Linked DNA regions of Homo sapiens: region 1 is linked to region 2. Evidence: promoter capture Hi-C in human tissues and cell types (Jung and others, 2019). All regions are on one chromosome and are shown on one strand. The core of a region is centred on a gene start or on the middle of the fragment in contact, and the rest is flanking DNA. Distances in the headings are between cores, read along the strand shown. Region 1 overlaps CADPS2 (calcium dependent secretion activator 2). Region 2 holds the start of RNF148 (ring finger protein 148).

The links. The method cuts DNA at HindIII sites, captures the fragments that hold promoters and counts their contacts. A contact is called where the count stands out against the background at its distance.
Region 1: a contact is called between a fragment that was not itself captured here and the fragment with the promoter of RNF148 in region 2, in 1 of the 25 tissues and cell types used here (hippocampus).

The regions. Positions count from the first base shown.
Region 1 is chr7:122,735,989-122,741,839 of GRCh38, reverse strand. CADPS2 (calcium dependent secretion activator 2) reads left to right here. Exons shown (of 30, transcript NM_017954.11): 2 at 4,772-4,885. All of the region lies in intron 2 of LOC124901738 (a long non-coding RNA gene), which reads right to left. Among named protein-coding and RNA genes, the nearest start is that of RNF148, 36 kb to the right of the region's middle. The HindIII fragment of the contact is 4,462 bases long and covers 1,561-5,851 here.
Region 2 is chr7:122,700,833-122,706,659 of GRCh38, reverse strand. It overlaps RNF148 (ring finger protein 148), which reads left to right and starts at 3,738. Exons shown (of 1, transcript NM_198085.2): 1 at 3,738-4,992. The coding sequence starts at 3,910. The coding sequence ends at 4,827. The region is part of intron 2 of CADPS2 (calcium dependent secretion activator 2); the gene reads left to right. LOC124901738 (a long non-coding RNA gene) reads right to left here and starts at 3,568. Exons shown (of 3, transcript XR_007060503.1): 1 at 3,514-3,568; 2 at 2,204-2,281. The HindIII fragment of the contact is 4,808 bases long and covers 1-4,328 here.

The DNA.
Region 1 (5,851 bases), core at 2,542-5,041, 35 kb before region 2:
TTTTGTCTTAGATAGTGTATAGTACTAGAGTTGTATGGAAGCCATAGGGACACTGATTTCAATTTTTATACTTGTTCCAAATTAGAATAGGATTCACTGAGATAATAAAAGGATGTATGTATATGTGTGTGTATTAATAGGCCCAACTGGAATCTGAAAGTCTACTTTTGTAGATTTTGTACAGATTAATATGTTGATTAGAATGTTGAATAGGATCTTGGTTTAAGCTTTTTGAAATCCTCAAGATTGTAATATTTAAAAAAATAGACACAGAGTCAAGGTAAGTTTTTTTACCTGAAAGAATGGAAAAAATTGGTGTGCTGTCCAGTCTCCGTGTAGGATAGGATTTAAGGTATTCACAGTGCTTCATAACTGTTTTGAGTTTCAAGATGTACAAAGCTGCTGTTATAGCTTATTTTAAGGGTTGTTTCACTTGAAAACTCAAAATGAATAAAGTGCTAATGTTGAAAAATCTCTTTTACCTGTATTTTCTGTCTGTCCAGTTCCCACAGCCATCCTTCTTCCCTAGTTTCTGTCTATATATGGAAGCAAATTCACATACATGTTATTTATCCATTTTCTATGTGAGTGGTGACTTATTTTAACTGCTGTTCTATAACTTGCTTTCTGCCCCAAGATATTTTTAAAATATTTAAAATCAGTACATAGAGAATGTTTACATTCTTTTAATGCAATGAATAGTATACCACTGTTTATAGATGTGGCATAATTTAGTCTCCTATATATGAACATTTAGGTTATTTTCCTTGTTTTTGCAATTAAGAATTATGTGGTAAATAACCTTCTACACATGTCATTTCTCACATGTGCAGGTGTATCTGTAGTATTGATCCAATCTCAAAGTGGAATTGCTGATTCCAAGGATATGTACCTTTAAAATGGCTTCTCATACAGTTTTAATTTGTATTCTTTTTATGAATGTAGGCTTGTTTTCATGGATTAAGTCTTTTATCTGAACATATCAATTTTGTCCATTTTTCTGTTGGTTTATTTATGATGTTCTTATCAATTTCTAGGAACTCTCTATATGGTTAGAAATGAACTCTTTGGGTAATGAGTTGCAAGTATTTTTTTTTCTAGTTAATCTTTTCCTATTTTGCCTATGGTATTTTTTGCCATGTAAAATTTATTTTTAATGCAAATAAATTGATGACATTTCAGTATTTTTAATAGAGTTTATTTTTTTATGAAATTTTAATTTCACAACAAAATTGAGCTTGAGTGGATGGTACAGAAATTTCCCATATATATCCTGCCCCCACACATGCATAGCCTACACTGTTATCAACAGCTGATCTTTTTACTGTCTCCATAGCTTTGCCTTGTCCAGAATGTCATATCGTTGGAGTCGTACAGTATGTAGCCTTTTTATATTGGCTGCTTTTACATAGTAATATGCATTTAAGGTTCCTCCATGTCTTTCCATGGCTTGATAGCTTATTTCATTACTTGCTAAATAATATTCCATTGTTGGACGTACCCGAGTTTATCCATTCATCTACTGAATTTTGCAATTATGAAAAAAGCTACTTTAAACATTTGTGTACAGGTATTTGTGTGGACATAAATTTCCAACTCATTTGGGCAAGTACTAAGGACTGTGATTACTGGATCATATGATAGAAGTGTATTAATTTGTAAGAAACCATCAACCTGTTTTACAAAGTAGCTATACCATTTTGCTTTCCCAGTAGCAAAGAATGAGAGATCCTGTGGTCTATATCCTTGCCAGCATCAAGTGTTTTCTGTGTTCTGGATTTTGTTCTTTCTAATGGGTTTGTAGTAAATCTCATTATTTTAATTTGCATTTCCCTGATGACATGAGGTGGAACATCTTTTATATTATTTTAACACCATTCATTGAGTAGACCATCCATTACTACTGATTTGAGTTGCTATATAGGTGTTTTATAGTACATTTCTGATTGTATTTCGGTCTGTTTCTTCGATCTGTTCCACTGGTCTATCTCTTGGTATACAGTCTGGTTTATCTTGATAATGCAAATAGCTTTTAGGAAACTGCTTTCTGACAGCTATCCCCAGTGCTAGATTTTAAGTTTAGTTTTCTTTTCCTGCCCCATCTTGCCTATGTGAAAAAGTAGACTTCTTCTTTATGCTAATAAAGTATTCATTTATTTGCTTTTTGTATGTAATTGTCATATTTGATCCATTTTATGTCTTAAATGTAACTGCAGTATCCTCTATTCATAAAAATATTGAAGCCTGACATTTAGCCAGGTGACTCTGGCTTATTTTGTGAACTATATCAACTTTGTTGGAGCTTCCAAGAAGATGATTTGCCCAAACCTCCTTTCCTTGATTCATATCCATGAATTTTCTACACTGTAATTACCAAAGAGTAACTCACTGTTATAATAGCGGAACTTAAATACTAATGATGTAGAAATTGCAAATATTGTAGTTTAGAAGAGTTTTAAAGAACAAAAAAGATATCTTTGATAAAATAAAATTGAATGAAAAAATACACAGTTTCTAGTTTTTGAAGAGTATGTATTTTATTTATCAAGCAAAGGAGTTGGCACAAGTGATCAGTAAGGTCTCCTTCAGTTCATTGTCATTCTTTGCATACATTTCCATTGCCATTATTTTACTTGGCTTGCAAGGAGAAGCTCTTCTTGGCATTCCCAGAGCTTAGTAACTATAGTGCTTTCAGCCGCCTCACTCTCAGCAATTGCTGTCCCATTTCCATTTGGTCCCTTTTGTGAATCATGCCTAGAGAGCTAAAGTCATGAACTTAATTTGCGTTGCTAGTATGCACCCATACAAAAGGTACCTGCTTCCATTTTCTTAATATTACAGAAATGGAGATTGTAATATAATGATGATGTTCCTGCACCTCAGCTTGGTTAAGCTTCCTCTAAAATGAAGGAGATAATCTTAGTAAAGAGATGGAATGGTCTTCTTTCTTCGCTGCCCATGGCAAAAGTTTTTTTTTTTTTTTTTTCCCCCCCTGGGTACAATAGGACACTTTTTAATTTTTTTTAAATCAGTCTGTTACTCCCAGCTACAGTTTCTTTAAAAACTGTCTTATTTGTTAGAGTCCTAAATAAAACCCATTTTTTGAAAGAGCTTGTCTTCCTTTTATTTGAATGGCAGTTTAATAAGCCTTTTGAACAGATTTATACTTAATTCACATCAGCCTTCTTTTTGAGCCAAGTCATACCAGTTTGTTTAGTCTTCCTAATCCTTTAATCATTTTATCCTCAGTATGTTTCCAGATGCTTCACATCCCTCTGTAGATTCCAGAACTGGAATGAGTTTGTTAATAAAGTCTGATCAGGATCGAATGAAATGGAAGGATCATTCCTTTGCTGTTTCTTATGTATTTTGGAATTTGTTGTTTTATCTCCAAGACTATGTTGTTTTCTCTCCAGTTAAGCATAAAAAAAAAAAAAGCTTCTGCATTACCTAAGATCTAAGACGCCTTATTTCTAGTGAAGTACATGCCCCTGTGTGTACAGTTGTGCAGGGCTTAGTGCCTAGAAGGGCTCTGCACTCAGCTTAATGCTCTCTGTTCCTGCCGTCTTGAAATTGTTAATATTTTTACTAAGAAGCTCCTTATTTTTATTTTGCACTGGGCCCTACAAATTAAGTAGCTCACCCTGCTTGTAGTTGATGACTAGAGGACATGATTGATAAGTCACATTTCATGTCTAATTCACCCTCTGTATTAATTATGGAAGCTAGACCCAGGGTAAGGACCCTTGGTTGTAAACTTCCCCAGTTCAGAGCATTTTCTCCTATGTGCTCAAAGACGCATTCACTGCCTACCTGCTGCCTCTCTGTTCTCTTTTGGATTTGTCTTCTTTGTCTTCTCCTTATTATTCCTTCAATTATCTAAACTCAGGTATTGATGTATGTTTGTTCATGGAATCCAAATTTTGGCATGCAATGGCTGTTCTTTCCAGAGGGATCTTTCTTAGGGTACGTTCTGTCTTTTCAGTCTTTCTTCCTATTAACTCTTGTCCAAGGCATCCCTCCCTCATCTCTAAGCTCCTCTCTACTTTCTCTGTTTAGAACAGCTGGCGATTTTGTATAATATTATTAATATTAACTATTAGTTAATTTCTTATCCAAATTTTATATTTTCCCTGTCTCTATGAAGAAACTGGTGTGGCAATCACAAGAATTCTGGAAATTTGAGATAGAAACTTGGGGTAGAAATTTGGATTCCACTTCCATATCAGGATTCTGGAAATTTGGGGTAGAAATTTGGATTCCACTTCCATATCAGGATTACAGAGTACATGAAATGGCTTGGAAATGTTTTAAAGTCTAACCATTAGTGTCCGGGTGCAGTGGCTCATGCCTGTAATCCCAGCACACTGGGAGGCCAAGGCAGGCGGATCATTTGAGGTTAGGAGTTTGAGACCAGTCTGGCCAACATCTCTACTAAAAATACAAAAATTAGCAAGGCGTGATGGCAGGCACCATAATCCCAGTTACTCAGGAGTCTGAGGCAGGAGAATCGCTTGAACCCGGGAGGTGGAGGCTGCAGTGAGCCGAGATCGCACCACTGCACTCCAGCCTGGAAGACAGAGCTTGACTCCATCTTGAGATGGAGGTCTAACCATTAGAACAAGTAGTAGGATGTTTTAGCTTTTATTTTTCTTTACTATAAAGTTAATTCTAGATGTGAAATCTAATATACAGCAAATATGATTTTTAATAGTCATTATTTTTTCATGTACTGGCCAATTTATCTGCTTATTTTCTCTTTTTCTTGTAGCTTAACAAACAACAGTTGCAGTTACTGAAAGAACGGTTCCAGGCCTTCCTCAATGGGGAAACCCAAATTGTAGCTGACGAAGCATTTTGCAACGCAGTTCGGAGTTATTATGAGGTAAGTTTGAAGAGCTTTGTTTTTGGCTTTCCGATGCATTTTAAAAGGAGTTTTATTATTTTTATGGGTTTCTCATTTTAAAGAAGCTTGCTGGTCTGACAGGAAGGCTGTGAATTTGCAACCTTTTTGAAAGCATTGTCAGTTCTATTTAGCAATTTAAAAGCTCTAATTCCACAGCCTGGTTTTGAGAGATAAACAGAATCGAAATTAGTCACATCTTTTGAGGAGAAGTAAACTATTTAGAAAAATCTTCTGGCAGTGATTGATACAGCTGACTATAGCTATCTTTAGGTCCACATGTCTAAATTATCCTTTTAAATCTGGATTTCAATAGTAAATTGCTATCTTATGCAATTTTGTTCCCTAAGCTTTATAATAATTAAAGCTAGTAACTAATTTCAAGAGGATGAATTGAATTCTCTTTGCTTCCTAAAGAAATAATACTACCAATACCATTCTGCTGTTTCTTCTGATTCTAGCTTGTGACTCATAGGAGTTTCTCTATGGATTTCCTATGAGCACCAGTTTTCACACATGGTCATTAACTGCTTCAGTGAGTTGCCACTAGCTGTTAGTTTAGAGAATTCACTTTTTGCATAAGCAATTCAGAGTCATTTGAGGGAATGGATTCCTTTCATTGTGCAGGTACTCAACACCTTTCAGCTGAAGAAGCATAATATGCGAATATATATTAGACTAATAAACAAGGGAAAATGTGGAGATACAATGGGTCTGAACTTACCTGAGGCAAGAATATTTTTGTGTAAAAATATTAAGTAATTGGATGTACTGTTAACTGATTGGATTTGTAATAGTGATGGTATGCATCAGAGGTTAATTAATGCAACTCTAGAGAAGTTTACCTTACCCCAAGCCTCAGCCTATTGAATTAAATGAAGTTTTGCTGACTAAATATGTATATAACATAAATCTAATGTCAAGAGTGGGTATGTCCAACTGGACCTT
Region 2 (5,827 bases), core at 2,489-4,988:
CTTGTTAAGAGCATGTAACTATATATATATACACACACACACAACCTATCTCTTAAGTGTGTGTGATATATATATATATACATATTCGCTGTTAACAAGAGTTAGGTAGAATGACTTTTTGAACCAGTTGAACCAACCCTAGTAATATGTTTCAGTTCTCTTTAGCCTGCCTACAAAAGGAATATATAAACATATATATATTCCTTGAATATATAAGCATATATATATATTCCTTGAATATATAAGCATATATATATATTCCTTGAATATATAAGCATATATATATATTCCTTGAATATATAAGCATATATATATATTCCTTGAATATATAAGCATATATATATATTCCTTGAATATATAAGCATATATATATTCCTTGAATATATAAACATATATATATTCCTTGAATATATAAGCATATATGTATTCCTTGAATATATAAGCATATATGTATTCCTTGAATATATAAGCATATATATGTATTCCTTGAATATATAAGCATATATATATTCCTTGAATATATAAGCATATATATATATTCCTTGAATATATAAGCATATATATATATTCCTTGAATATATAAACATATATATATTCCTTGAATATATAAATCCTTGAATATATAATATATATTTATATAATATATAATATATATAAATATTATATAATATATAATATTATATATTATATTATATTATATATATATTATATATTATATTATATAATATATTATATATTATATTATATAATATATTATATATTATATTATATTTATTATATTATATTATATATAATATGTATAATATGTTATATAATATATATTATATATAAATATATATTATTATATATCATATATATTATATTATATATGATATATATTATATAATATATCATATATTATATATTATATATATTATATATTATATAATATATGATATATTATATAATATATGATATATTATATATAATATGTGATATATTATATAATATATTATATATGAGATATATTATATAATATATTATATATCATATATAATATATATAAATGTTATATAATATATAAAATATATTATATAATATATAATATAGATAATATATAATATAAATATATATAATATATAATATAGATAATACACAATATAAATATAGATAATATATAATATAGATAATATATAATATAAATATATATAATATATAATATAGATAATATATAATATTATATTACATATTATATATTATCTCTACTAATATATTTCAATTCTCTGTAACCTACCTGCAAAATTCAACAGAATGAAAAACTCTTCAATATTTGGCTGTTAGAAAGAATGTCCATGTATTGAATAAATGATCTAAAAGGAACAGATTACAGTAGCCTCAATCATCCAGTCTCTCTCTCTGTCTCCCAGTCACATGCGGTTCCAGGAAGACTCTTAGACCTCATTCTGATAAAATATATGCAATTTGTCATGATACTTAATGGACTAAAAGGTAACTTGTACAGATCTCTCCTGTTTCTATTCCAGGGAAAACTAGAGAAATTAAGTTGCATTGAGGGCCTCATCCTTGATGGAAGCATTGTCAATTATAAAAGCTTATTTTGTGTCGAGAATTTATACCTGACCACCCATCGGGGTTGGGAGAGTTTTGGGATGCTTCTCTCCTCAGGCTGTTTCATTAGATTAGGGTTTCTTAACCTTACTATTGATATTTTGGACCACATAATTTCTTATTATGTGGAGCTACTATGTGCATTTTCAGATGTTTTAGTGGCAACGCTGGTGTGTACTCGCTAGATGCTGGTAGCACTCTCTAATTGTGACAATCAAAAAATGTCTGCAGAAGCAGCCAGATGTCCCCTGAGAGGCAAAATTGCCCCCAAGTTGAAAACCACTTTTTAAGAGATAGATGATTGTTTCTTATAGGTCTATTTTGTTGTAAGACGAGGGCAGAAGAGAGGGCAGTTCTATCATTGCCTTAACCACTTTATATTATAATGAGAAAAATAGAATGAATGAGCTAAGTTCCTCAAATTGGTCCTTTCAACCATACAGAGAACCTTTTGATGTGAGATATGTTTTGAAGCAAAATATAGTTACAGGTTAAACACTTCACCCACAAAAAATCTGCAAAATAAAAAGTCAGAGTTATATTATTTTGTAATCCTACTTCCAAAGGTTAAATAATCACAGATTTAACAAATTACCTCTAATATGATGATGTTAAACCGTCTTCTTAATGAGGCTTCAATTTGTCACTGTTAATAGAATCAGCCAGGAATTCACTCCATTTGAACATGAAAAAAAAAAAGTCTACCTGTAAGGACAGTTCAGGTGTTACCTGAATCATGCTTCAACAGAATTGCATGAATGGGACAAGTAGACTGTTTCCTAGAGTTTTTTTTTAAAAAAGCAAATATTAACTAAAATACAGGGAATACTAACAAATATTAACTAAAATAGGCCAGGGAATACAATAAATGCTTTTGTCCAAATGAGAAAACTCTATCATGTCTATGATTAAATGTTCATGTCCATTTTTCACACTAGGAAATAAGGTCTTTTCTTTTTCTATCCCTAGGACTTTGTGGCATGCTGAGCACATAGAAGATAACCTATACATGATAGAAAATAAATTTTTGAGTGGGTGTTGCCAATTTATTGGCTCCTTGAAACAGACTTTAGATAAAGATTTAAGATAAAACTAAACAATAAGGCATCTTTAAAGCCGTAAAGATTCTGTAATTTGCAAAAATCATGTAGTGATTTTTTATCATTGTGGCCATCCTTTCCTCTTCCCACTACTGTCCTTCCAGTTACTAAATCTGTTATTCAGCCTTTGTCTGTGTCTCTACATCTATGCTGCTACTTTGAGTCCAAGCCACTATCTTCTTTTGCCTAAGCTCATTCTCTTGTTATTCTCCCTCTCCAATACATTTTCCCCATAAAGCAACCAAAGTGAACATTTTGAAACACATTTGTCACCTCCCTGGCTTAGAACCCTACAGTGTGTTTCTCTTGTCCTTGGGACATCATCCAAAATCCTTAGCCTCTACAAGAGTAGGGCCGTCTCTATTTTCTTCTCCAATATATGTCCACTCTCAGTATTTGCCAGCACATAGTAGGTTCTTACCAGAAGATGGGACTGTATTAGGCTAACAATAAGAGTTTACACTGTTTTCTTAGTGTTGGATCTTTAGGTGTGGGATAGGCATTTAATGTGGGAAGTGGGTGGGAATGGTTTGCTCCTACTTCCCACAGAATGCCATACTGGGTAGTGTTGAACCATCCCACAGAATGCCATATTCGGTAGTGTTGAACCATCCCACAGAATGCCATATTGGGTAGTGTTGAACCATGCATGAAAACTGGCAACTGGCCCAGGTACATGCACTAATACATGAATTATTTTTATCTTTGCCTTTGCCTTACAGCTAGAAAAAACATTATATGGCTGGGTAGATTTTCAGTCTCTCCAGAACTAAGGAAGAAACCCAAGGCTTTAAAAAATTCTTACCAGTTTATTTATTGCTTTACAGCCTATTCAAATTGTTATGTATCTTGACTCATTGCTTAGCTTTTTGGCCAATAGGATTTCAGGATGCAATGCACTAATATAAACTCTTGGATTGGTTTAACTACCTCTGATGTCATAATTTCCCCATTTGGATGTCATAATTTTCTTGAAATCACATGGTACCAATCACAAGTCTTGTTATTTTGTTTCATTATGAGAAAGATAATCTACTAAATATTAAAATACTGGAAGGAGCAAGATAGCTTTGATCCAGGGAGACCTTTTCCATTTATGTGCTTTAGTAATCTGCCGCCAACAAGCTATCTTCTTTATGTTCTTCTACAACTGATGTTGTTTTGTTTTCTCATGTTTGTCTCTTAATAGACAAATGGAGGCATGAGCTTCCTTAGAATTACCCCTTCGACGCATAGTTCTGTTTCATCTGGACTTTTGAGGCTTAGTATCTTTCTACTACTTAGCTTTCCTGACTCAAACGGAAAAGCCATTTGGACAGCTCACCTGAATATAACATTTCAGGTTGGAAATGAGATCACATCGGAATTAGGAGAGAGTGGAGTGTTCGGGAATCATTCTCCTCTGGAAAGGGTGTCTGGTGTGGTGGCACTTCCTGAAGGATGGAATCAGAATGCCTGTCATCCTTTGACCAATTTCAGCAGGCCCAAACAGGCAGACTCATGGCTGGCCCTCATCGAACGTGGAGGCTGTACTTTTACACATAAAATCAACGTGGCAGCAGAGAAGGGAGCAAATGGGGTGATCATCTACAACTATCAAGGTACGGGCAGTAAAGTATTTCCCATGTCTCACCAGGGGACGGAAAATATAGTCGCGGTGATGATAAGCAACCTGAAAGGCATGGAAATTTTGCACTCGATTCAGAAAGGAGTCTATGTGACAGTCATCATTGAAGTGGGGAGAATGCACATGCAGTGGGTGAGCCATTACATCATGTATCTATTTACCTTCCTGGCTGCCACAATTGCCTACTTTTACTTAGATTGCGTCTGGAGACTTACACCTAGAGTGCCCAATTCTTTCACCAGGAGGCGAAGTCAAATAAAGACAGATGTGAAGAAAGCTATTGACCAGCTTCAACTGCGAGTTCTCAAAGAAGGGGATGAGGAATTAGACCTAAATGAAGACAACTGTGTTGTTTGCTTTGACACATACAAACCCCAAGATGTAGTACGCATTTTAACTTGCAAACATTTTTTCCATAAGGCATGCATTGACCCCTGGCTTTTAGCCCATAGGACATGTCCCATGTGCAAGTGTGACATCCTGAAAACTTAAGAAATCTGGAGAATTTTCTGAAGATGTAACCAGATCTTTCCAAATACAAAGATTAGATAAATTGTCTTATTGTACTTTATGTAGAGAGAAAATTTCAGCTTCTCTACCCAAGTATGAACAAGGGTGAAATTTGTGTTTTAAAAATAAAACTCCTTATCATGCCCAGCTATTTGAACTTCTTGTCTTTCTAATCAGTTTTAATTGTTTTTTTAGGTGAATTTTATTTTATTTATTTATTTTTTATTATACTTTAAGTTTTAGGGTACATGGGCACAACGTGCAGGTTAGTTACATATGTATACATGTGCCATGTTGGTGTGCTGCACCCAGTAACTCGTCATTTAACATTAGGTATATCTCCAAATGCTATCCCTCCCCGCTTCCCCCACCCCACAACAGGCCCCGGTGTGTGACGTTCCCCTTCCTGTGTCCATGTGTTCTCATTGTTCAATTCCCACCTATGAGTGAGAACATGCGGTGTTTGGTTTTTTGTCCTTGCGATAGTTCGCTGAGAATGATGGTTTCCAGCTTCATCCATGTCCCTACAAAGGACATGAACTCATCCATTTTTATGGCTGCATAGTATTCCATGGTGTATATGTGCCACATTTTCTTAATCGTATCCCTTTTTGCCCTTATCCAAATAAGAACATTAGTATATGTTAAAAACAAATTTTTTTTTCTTCAAGTTACTAGGATTGTGACATTGCCATAGAGAATTAGCCATGCTATTTTAAAGTTTCCTTTTTTAATACTAATTCTTGTACTTTGTTTCCACATTTTGACTAATTTTGGTATCTAATAATTTATATCTCTGATTCTCCATGGTTAATTAATTTTATTAATACCCAGGAAATCTAGTTTCCAAAGCTACTCACTGGATTGGTAATGTGTTCTAAATAATTATTTTAGATGATAGTACTTTGGATATGTAAGGAAAAGTGTTCTAAATTATTATAGGCTTCATTTAGGATAACATTGCAAACATTCACTTTTGTTT